2 separate regions of the Homo sapiens genome follow, and region 2 is linked to region 1. Evidence: promoter capture Hi-C in human tissues and cell types (Jung and others, 2019). All regions are on one chromosome and are shown on one strand. Each heading gives the region's core, a stretch centred on a gene start or on the middle of the fragment in contact. The rest is flanking DNA. Distances are from core to core; before and after follow the strand shown.

Region 1 (4,511 bases), core at 6-2,505:
AGTATAGCATTCCCCCAAATACAGATTATAAATAAGGACCACCTGAAGCGCAATATGGGCCCCCCCCCACCCCCGCTCCCACCCCGGAACAACCAAAACCATATCCAGGGGAGATGCGTAGGAATCTTTAATCACCCCAGGTGATTTTTTTTCTGATTACCAACTTTGAGAAACACTGAAGGGACCTCTTCTCCATTCTATATGTGGCTAATATAAACCCTAAACATCATTTCTATGTATTCGTTAGACCGTTGTTTACTAGAAAATTTCAGAAGTCCTTTCCGACTTAGTAATTTTGTTATTTTGAGTTGAACTGAAATTCACTTGGAGCGGTCAGTTGAAAATGTTTTTTGTTTGTGCTCTGAAAAGGTTCCCAGTGTTCCGGGTAAAGTCATCCTTTCACCCATGGGGGACCTGTGCCTCGTGCCTGAACTGCCCGCCTAGTACCTCCCCCCTTGAACTTCCTCTCGCAAGCCTCCTCCTCCCGCTTCATCTGGGCCTCGGGTCTAGCTTGTTTTGTCCCTTCGCGGCTTTTGAGTAGAACATTTGGTGCTTTCCCAGTTCACGACGCTTTGCTGGAATCGTCAATTTCCAGGGATTTCACAGGCTGGCCAAAACAGTTTGTTCAGAACAGCGCCGCCGGGGCATTGGCAGCCCTGGGCGGCCGCGCGTTTCCTCACTCCGCACAACCACCCGTGACCTTGGGCGAGCGAACGCACGCCGCCAGCTGCGTCAGGGCCACGCTCGGGCTGGACTTCGGAGCTCAAAATGGGTGTGGGGAGTGAGGAGGTTTCATAAACAGAAAAGACCTCGAAGCCATAAGGCAATTCTTTTCCTTTTCTGGGGGTGAATCCTTACGATTCTTGGGGGAGGGAATGTCTGCCCAGGGCTGGAGACAAAGCGTGAGAACTAGGATGGCGAAAAACGGGTTTGAATGAGAAAATCCGAAGGAGGGAGGCTGAGGGCGGACAATTGGGTTAAAAATAGAAACGCATCCTCCACAGGACTCGCTCTTCCCAGCTCCACCCTAGGGGCCGACTGCCAGGCCAGTGGCTGGGCTCCGCGAGAAGGCACAGCAACCCGTCTCGGCCCCGCCTCCTGGACCTACTGACAGGGCACCGGGGGCGTGGCCTTGGGCCCGCGACGTCACCGCGCTCCCCGCCGCCGCCGCCGCCGCCGGGGTTTTCGCTGACGCACGGGTCCCGCCCCCTCCCCCTCTTTTCCCTCACAGCCCGGGCGCCGGGCGGCGAGTGCGTTAGTCGGCCGGGACGCGGAGCTGTGTGCATCTCCTACGCGGGCTCGCTCGCTCCCGGGAGCCGCGCAGCTTCCCCGGCGGTGGCAGGAGCGGCGAAGAGCGCCATCAGCGGGCCCTTACGGCCCCAGGCCTCGCGGCGCGCGGTCCGCTCGCCCTCCTCGTCCGCCCAACCTGCGGCCTGTGGAGGCGTGAGGCGACGACAGGCGAGCGCCTCGAGCAGCGTTAGCCGCTGCGGCCGCCGGTCCTCCCTCCACCTCCTCCTCGGCCCCCCCTCGCTTCCCTCCTCCCACTTCCCGAGCTCCGGCGTGTCCCGGCCACGCTCGACGCTGCTGCAGGAACAAAGGAAGACCCCGCGGCGGCGGCGGCGCCACCTCCGCCTGCTGCTCCGACCCGCTCCCGGCCCGCGGCGGCGGCACCAGGGCGCCCGGCTCAGCCTTCCCGGAGGCCTCGGCCCGGCCTCATCGTGCCGGCTTCGCGCGCGAACCCGGCTTTCGCATTTGGGACCCTGCAGGGTGAGTGATACGGGGCTGCGGGTGGGAGCCGGGCTCCTTGTTGCCGGGCCGGGGGCGGGAGTGAAGGGACCGGGGCGCCGCGGGCCAATGGCGAAGCCGGAGCAGGCCGCGGATGGCGGCGTCCGGGGGAGGGGAGCCCGCCCGCCAGCCCAGGAAGCACAAAGACGGAGGCGTCATCCTGTCGTCGTGGCCCGAGACCTGGCTCCCGGCGTCCCTGGCTCGCTCCACAGCACGGTCGGGAAACAATGCACGGCGTGCCGCCTCTGCGGGGCCGGCCTCTAGGCCGCTCGCCTCCGCGGCGGCGCCCGGCGTGGGCACCACGACCCAGAGAAACAAAGAGGCCGAGGCGGCGGCCGCGCCCCCTGCCCGTTGCAGCCCCCCCTAGCTCTCCCCTAAGAGGAGCCGTTCGGGGTCGGGGGTCGGGGGTCGGGGATCCGCGTGGGGCCTGCAGGCGAAGGGCTGGCCGGGCCTGCTGAGCTGCTGTTCTGCATGACTCAGTGGTTTTCGGAGAGGGCCCTGTTGGGCTTTATTGAGTGAGGCCTTTGCTTAGAGGGGGATGGGGTATCAGTGGGACCCGAACTTGTTCCAAAATCCATTGGAACATGGGGCCGGGGGTTCTCGGCGTCGTCTTTTGGGCTTCTCGACGTCGCTGCGTTTTTATCCTGAGATCCGTTTTCATGGAGGAAATGGAACACCTCCTTTGTTTGGTGCATTTAGGCTGATGAATGTGAAATTTTTTGCTCGCTTTCCACGCACTCCGTGGAGGTGTGTTTTCGGGGAAGGGTCGGATTATCTTTATTGATTGAGTGTCTCCTAAGGGATAGCATCTAAGGAGATACCAAGATAAAGGAACATATAGGTCACACATCCCCGTTCTTAAACCTGGGATTTAGATACAGACTTCTAAAAACATAAACGAATGTATTTTATTCCTTATTTTTAGGATTTTTTTTAAAGAGTAGGCTTTCAGAACTCAGTTGGTGAAAATACTGCAATTTTATCTTTGAAGTTTTTTGTTAAAATGTTTCCCCACACCCCCCTAAAAAATTAAGGATTCTTTGTAGTTGTCTCCTGTTTTCTATCTCCCAGGCCCTGAAAAGGAGCCTTTAAAAGTCAATTCTACTCCATTTGGCAAAGAGGGAACTGAAATCTGGAAAGTAAGGACTTGCCCAAGGTCACTGACTTAGTGGCAGACTAGAGACTTGAACTCAGGTCTCCATTCCCAGGTGAGTGGGAATTCATGCCATCTCATCACATCATGTGCACCTGAAAGAACTGTATTCCATAGGTGTAAAAGCTCTTTGTTCAGAATTGGAATTGGAGAATTGTTCAGTTACACTCGGGTGTTTTTTTAAGCTGTAAGTTAGAGGAAGCCATAAACTTTATAAAATCTGCATTCTAGCTATACCTGATAGAGCTGACACGTGCATGCTCAAGTTGCTAATTACTTTAAAGGCAATAAATAGTAATGGTATTTTTTTCTAAAATACAAGGGGAATGCAATACCTAATGGGAACACACATCCCCCACTTCATCCCCTAAATCCTCACTAAATGAGGATTCTTTTTTACACTGTCTCCACTGTGCTTAGTTTTTTATCAACAACCTTGACCATTTTAGCTTTGACTATGCTTTCATCTTCTAGATTGAGATTGTTCTGTAGTTTTTCCTACATTAGGAAAAAACTAGCAGCCCTTTTTTTGTTTTCTTATGTTAGATATATGAACGCTGCATCCTTAGTTCTTGGGGTTGTGTAGGAGTTGGCAGGCTTTGAGATATAAATAGAAGCTGATTTCAGAGGCCCCTGTTGACTAGGCTTTATGTGAGAGCCTCCATCCAGCTCAGCTTGTCACATTGCAGCCTTGTGACAGGCTGAAGCGCCCTCCCATGTGATCTGAGCTTCTGAGAAATATTAAAGCAAGCTGTGCACATGTGATGGCATTTAAAAGCTGGCTTTCTAGGGGAAAAAAATCTAAAAGATGGGAACCCATGTAGAAGACTCATGTCCTGGTACCTCTTGTGTGTCTCGCAGTTGAAAGTTATTTATAATGAAATGAAGGTAGACATGTTCTCTGAAGCAAAGTTGGAATACTTTGTTATCTCTGAGTGTGTGAAATCTTTAGATGGAGTATCCTCCATTTTATCTAAAACAAATATTTTAAGAATCAGATTAACTAAAATTACTTAGGTAGGTTGATCGCTTGGCCTTAAACTTTAAAGCCAATGTCACATGAGACTGGGCCTCAGTGTAGAAAATGTAAGCTAGCATACTTAAACTGGTTTTAAGGAGTGACCCAACTTTCATGCATAGGGCAAACATTCACACATATTTTGTGCGTGGTGGGCATGCAAATACATACATATTTATCATTTGAAAGCATTTTTTGCTCCTATTATGCTCATTTAAAAACCCAGCTGAAAGTGTTTATTAATAAACTTCCTAAGTGATGTTGAAATGTTTACACTACCCTGCTCCAAAATGAGTCAGCTAAATTCCAGTTAATATTTAAAGAGACAGTGTCAACTAAATTAATACTGTTGTTAAAAGTAAGTTGTGGATCTTGGTCACTCCACACAAGCTAGATTGTCTTAATATTTGTATGGTGCACTTTTACTTACAAAAGGGAAGATAAAATGTTTTGGGGAATAATTACCAGGGGTCTGGCCAGGTCAAAATTGGTTAGTCCCCTTCTCCCATCTTCTAATTTTGGTAGTTAATACTTGTTAAAACATCGTTTTTTAAT
Region 2 (4,951 bases), core at 1,689-4,188, 710 kb before region 1:
GCCTCAGCCTCCCAAGTAGCTGAGATTATAGGCGTGCACCACCACACCTGGCTAATAATTGTATTTTTAGTAGAGACAGGGTTTTGCCATGTTGGCCAGGCTGATCTCAAACTCCTAGCCTCAAGTGATCCGTCCACCTCCGCCTCCCAAAGTTCTGAGATTGCAGGCATGAGCCACCACGCCAGGCCTGGATTGCCTTCTTATATCAAGCTTCTAGATTCCCTTATTTTTACTTTCCTACCATAATTTAAAAAATTGTTAAATTGTGTTGAGATTTTTCAATGTGCTTTACCAAAAAAGGTTTTTCTGAATATCAAATCAACCATTTTGACCCCATTTTCCATTTTCTGTCAAGTACCTCTGAGCCAGTCTTTTGCCTACATCACCACACCAACGTTAATGCTAAAAAGATAATTTTCAGAAAAAGGTGAAATCATAACCCTCATTCAGATATGAAAATGAACATGTGTTAAATAATTTTACTTACATAATATGAGGGAGCCACGGAGATGTTATAACTGATTCAAAGGAAAAGTCAAACAGCGCTAATTTATCTAGAGCACAGAATGTTGAAATTAATTGGAAATGCAGACAAAACTGATTTTTCCACATTCATTTAGATCACTACCAAACTGGACACAGAAAGTCAATTAATGTCACTAACAGACAAGTCAGAATTTGTTTATCAATTACCTACCACTTACAAAGATTTGCAAAACAGCTCAAAGACAATGAGCAGGGGTAGAATTTGATACCCTAAAAGAGTTGTCAGACTATGTTTAGTTGCCCACTGAAACACAAAATTTTTTTCATACACTGATCTTGTCAAGGCCATTAATGACTTCTACACTGAAAAATTCAGTGTCATTTCTCCATAATCATCTTGCTTCAGTTATTAACAGCTTTTGATATAGCTAATGACTCCCTTTCTTTTTGGAAAAAAAATTATTTGCTGTCCCCTTTGCTGATTTCTCTTTATTTTCATAAACTCTTCTCCACCAGTACTCCTTGTGTAGGTGACTTCATCTGATTCCAAGTATTTAAATACCAACTATATGCTTAAAAAATTCCTAAAATTATATCTTCAGTCCCAACATCTCCTGGATACACCTGACTTATACATTTTTTGGCTTACATCTACTGTCAAGTTGCCATCTTAAATTTCTGCTATCTGAAACTGGACTTTGATTTATTTTAGTCTACCCCTTTTCAACACACACTCTCTCACACACACACACACACACACATGCAAACACCCACACCCACACACACACACCTGATCTTCATATAGTTCTAGCTACTCAAGAAAAATCTGCAGAGTCATTCTGAATATCTTCAAATTGTCCCTCCAGGTTCATTCTCTTTTCTAAATCCTGATCCATGCCAGCAAACTAAACTGAATGTCATCTCTCAGTAAACATCTTGCAAGTGTGTAATAGCCTTTTACACTTGCCTTTCTACAATCTATTCTCATATGCAAACAGAGCAAACTTTTAAAATGAATATCATATCCTGCCCTTTAGACCTTCTTGCTATTCCTTGAATATACTTAGAATATTCTTGTCTCAGGGTCTTACTTGCCTGGAAGGTGTTTCCCTTAGATATCCATTTTGATTTCTCCTTCACTACAACTCCATGAATAGATGTCACCTTATCAGAGATTTTCCTGACTCTCATATGAAAGAGCATCCTTCCCCTTCTCCACTATCATTCTCTATCCCCCCTACTCTACTACACATTACTTCACAGCACTTACCACCACTTTACATAATTTATATATCTGTAGTGTATTTATATTTGTTTAAGGTTTATTTGATATCTTTCTTTGTCAGAATCTAAGTTCCATGAGAGCAAGAACTTTTGTCTGTTTTTTTCCAGTGATGTTTCTGCTGTGTATATAAACATGTCTGCATCATAGTCACCCCATATGGGTGTGGAGTGAAATAAAAGATTGAATAAATGAATTGACCAATGATGCAGAATTTATGTTATGGCACACTGAGTGATACATGGTCAGTACTACTGTTATTTGAGTCCCAATCATTTTTCAACAGGAAGAAAAGAAGTTCCCTACATATAATCACAAATATAATCAAATACTTGAAAGATGTTCATTGGTCTCAATGTGACTCAAAGCTGAAACACAAAATCAGAGTTGAGCAACGATTTCTTAAGAAGCCAATAATGAGGAAACAAATCAGCAGGATAAACAAAGATCTATATAGAAGAAACTTCACATCATTGTGGGTTCAAGTTATATTTTCTTTGAGTCAAAAAGCACAGTTATGCTATTGATAGTATAATTAGCATCTTGTTTAATTCATAAAATTGCCTTGAATAAAGTAATGATTGCCTAGTGAATTTCTAAGTTCTCCATTTGAAGAGAAATATAAATATATCAAATCCATATTATGTAAATTTGATATATAAATAAATTTGATATATTTATATTTCGCAAGCAATAGAATAAATGTTCTTCATCTTCCTTTCACACAATTACTTCATTTCATTTTTATAGTTTTGTATTTAGAGGCTCCTATACTTTTATTATATCAGTAACTATTAAAATTCAGCTCTTTAATGAAGCAATTTCAGCTTTATCCTATACATCTGTGATAACATTGAAGCAACTCTCCTATGGTCAACTCTATACCATTAAATTATTTTTCATTATATTTTCATGATAGTAATAGAGTGTATTGATCCTGGTATTTTTTCTGAAGATTACTAGCATAAGAATTATCTGGGGAAGCCAAATTCAAATTTCCACACCATCTGATTTGGTAAACAATGAAGAATAAGACCTATTTAAACCAACTTAATTTTTTTTTTTCTTTGAGATGGAGTTTTGCTCTTGTTGCCTAGGCTGGAGTGCAATGGTACGATCTCGGCTCACTGCAATCTCTGCCTTCCAGGTTCAAGTGATTCTCCTGCCTCAGCCTCCTGAGTAGCTGGTATTATAGGCACATACCGCCACACCCAGCTAATTTTTTTTTTTTTTGTAGAGATGGGGTTTCACCATGTTTGCCAGGCCAGTCTTGAACTCCTGACCTCAGGTGATCTGCCCACCTCAGCCTCCCAAAGTGCTGGGATTACAAGCATGGGCCACTCACTCTTCCTGGCCTAAACCTACGTAAATTAAATGAACATAGGGAATAATGTAAAGGATAACTGGTAATGGTTTCAAATATGGCTTATTCTAGGAGTTCAAATAATAGCTCCAGAACCTGCCATATCTCCATCCTTAGATTCTACTTTCCTTCATGTTGTGTGATTCTCAGATTCCTCATGACAGGATGTTTGCCAAAATCTCTCTTCCAGGAATAAAGATGTCTCCGTCTCTTTCCAGTAGCTCTTGAAAAGCCTTAGAATTAACTTTGTATACCTTAAGAAAATCAGTAACTTTTTCTCTGTCAATAGCAAGGTTGAAGCAAAAGAAAAAAAAGAAAGATTCATCTATAATAGGGACTAAAAGTGAAAATTCTTAGACTTAAATATAGCAAGAGTAGCATAAGATTTATATAAAAGTTAATTTATAAAATCCAAATGAAGTACATAAAATATTCCTAATGATACTACTATTATAGAAATGTCACTACTTCTAATATTATTATAGAAATGTTATGCAACTTAAATTACAATCTTAATAAGCTTTTCTGTTGAACAATATAAAGTGATTCTAGAATGTATGTGAAAAAATATATCTCTAGAAATAGTCAAGAAATTTATGAATACTGAATAATAACAAGAAGGCAAAGTAGGAGACTTCCAGATACTAAAATAACTATGGAGTAACTGTAATCAAAGGTAAGTGTATAATTTTAGCACAGGAATAGGTAAACACATTAGTCAAATATGCCTGAGCATCCATAGAAAGATTTAGTAGTTATAGGATTTTAATTGAACTTAGTGAGAATGTCTAATTTAATAAACGATGCTTGTATGTTTGATTATCCATGTAGAAGAAAAATGAATCCTTGCTCTAAGAAAAATATTGAAAGAAAATTTAGAAGTTTACTTGTGTAAATTTGAGATGGGAAAGATATTCCCAAGTATGACAGAAATCACAGAAACCATAAAGGAAAAGCTAGATATATTTGGCTCTTTTAAAGTTACATATTTCTGCAAGGCAAAAGATACCAGAAACAAAACGAAGAAACAAATTTAAAGATATTTAAAGTGTTGAAAATTAAATTAATTGTAGAATAAGTTTATTTTTCTCGGGCACTAGTTATTAAAGGATCATTACATGTGAATTCCTTCTGTAGAATTCATAGGATTATCAAACTGTATAAGCAACAGAAAGAGAAATTACAAATTTTATCAATAAAACTATTTTACAATTAGCACTCAAGCTTTTATTGTCTAGAATTATCTTTCTAATGAAATGATACTTCTAGAAAAGCATGAAAAATCACTCCAATTCTTTATTTTAAAAATAAGTAGATAAAAAGCAGAATGGTACTCATTCGAAAAGATACAGAGTAAAACAGAGCAAAAGAAACACAAAGGCAATGAAAAATAATTAATAAGAACTCAAAAATGTCCCTTTCAAACAAAAGTTGAAAGGGTCAACAGACTTGCACTTTTGACCAAGAAGGAATTTTAGAAATGTGAGTCGATAGAAAAAAACATCCTGTTTTTCAGTCCAATCATGGCAATGAAAAATAGGATTCTGGAAAACATAAAAGTGGCATGCCACAAGATAAACATAAGTCACTACTCTTAGATGACTCTTAAATTATGAACAAAATGTAGACATTGTAATAACTGAAATGTATTTTAAATGTAGGGTTTGATCTGATTAATGGAGAAAATCCCATAGCATCTCTACTGAAAGAAACTATGAAAAAGAAGTACTGGTATAACAGCTTTCTCAGGGGGCCATGGTAACTGTGAGCTAATATCATTTGTATTTGGTAGGAGGTGGGGAAGAATGGGAGATCATTAA

Evidence for each region. Contacts are between HindIII fragments. The study calls those that stand out against the background at their distance.
Region 2: a contact is called between a fragment that was not itself captured here and the fragment with the promoter of ZFAND5 in region 1, in 1 of the 25 tissues and cell types used here (dorsolateral prefrontal cortex).

What each region holds. Positions count from the first base shown.
Region 1 is chr9:72,361,952-72,366,462 of GRCh38, reverse strand. ZFAND5 (zinc finger AN1-type containing 5) reads left to right here and starts at 1,255. Exons shown (of 7, transcript NM_001102420.3): 1 at 1,255-1,767; 2 at 2,857-2,993. RefSeq lists silencers at 1,017-1,396, 1,407-2,236 and enhancers at 844-1,548, 1,549-2,252. The HindIII fragment of the contact is 11,173 bases long and covers 1-4,511 here.
Region 2 is chr9:73,074,163-73,079,113 of GRCh38, reverse strand. No RefSeq gene overlaps it. Among named protein-coding and RNA genes, the nearest start is that of ANXA1, 75 kb to the left of the region's middle. The HindIII fragment of the contact is 7,031 bases long and covers 1-4,951 here.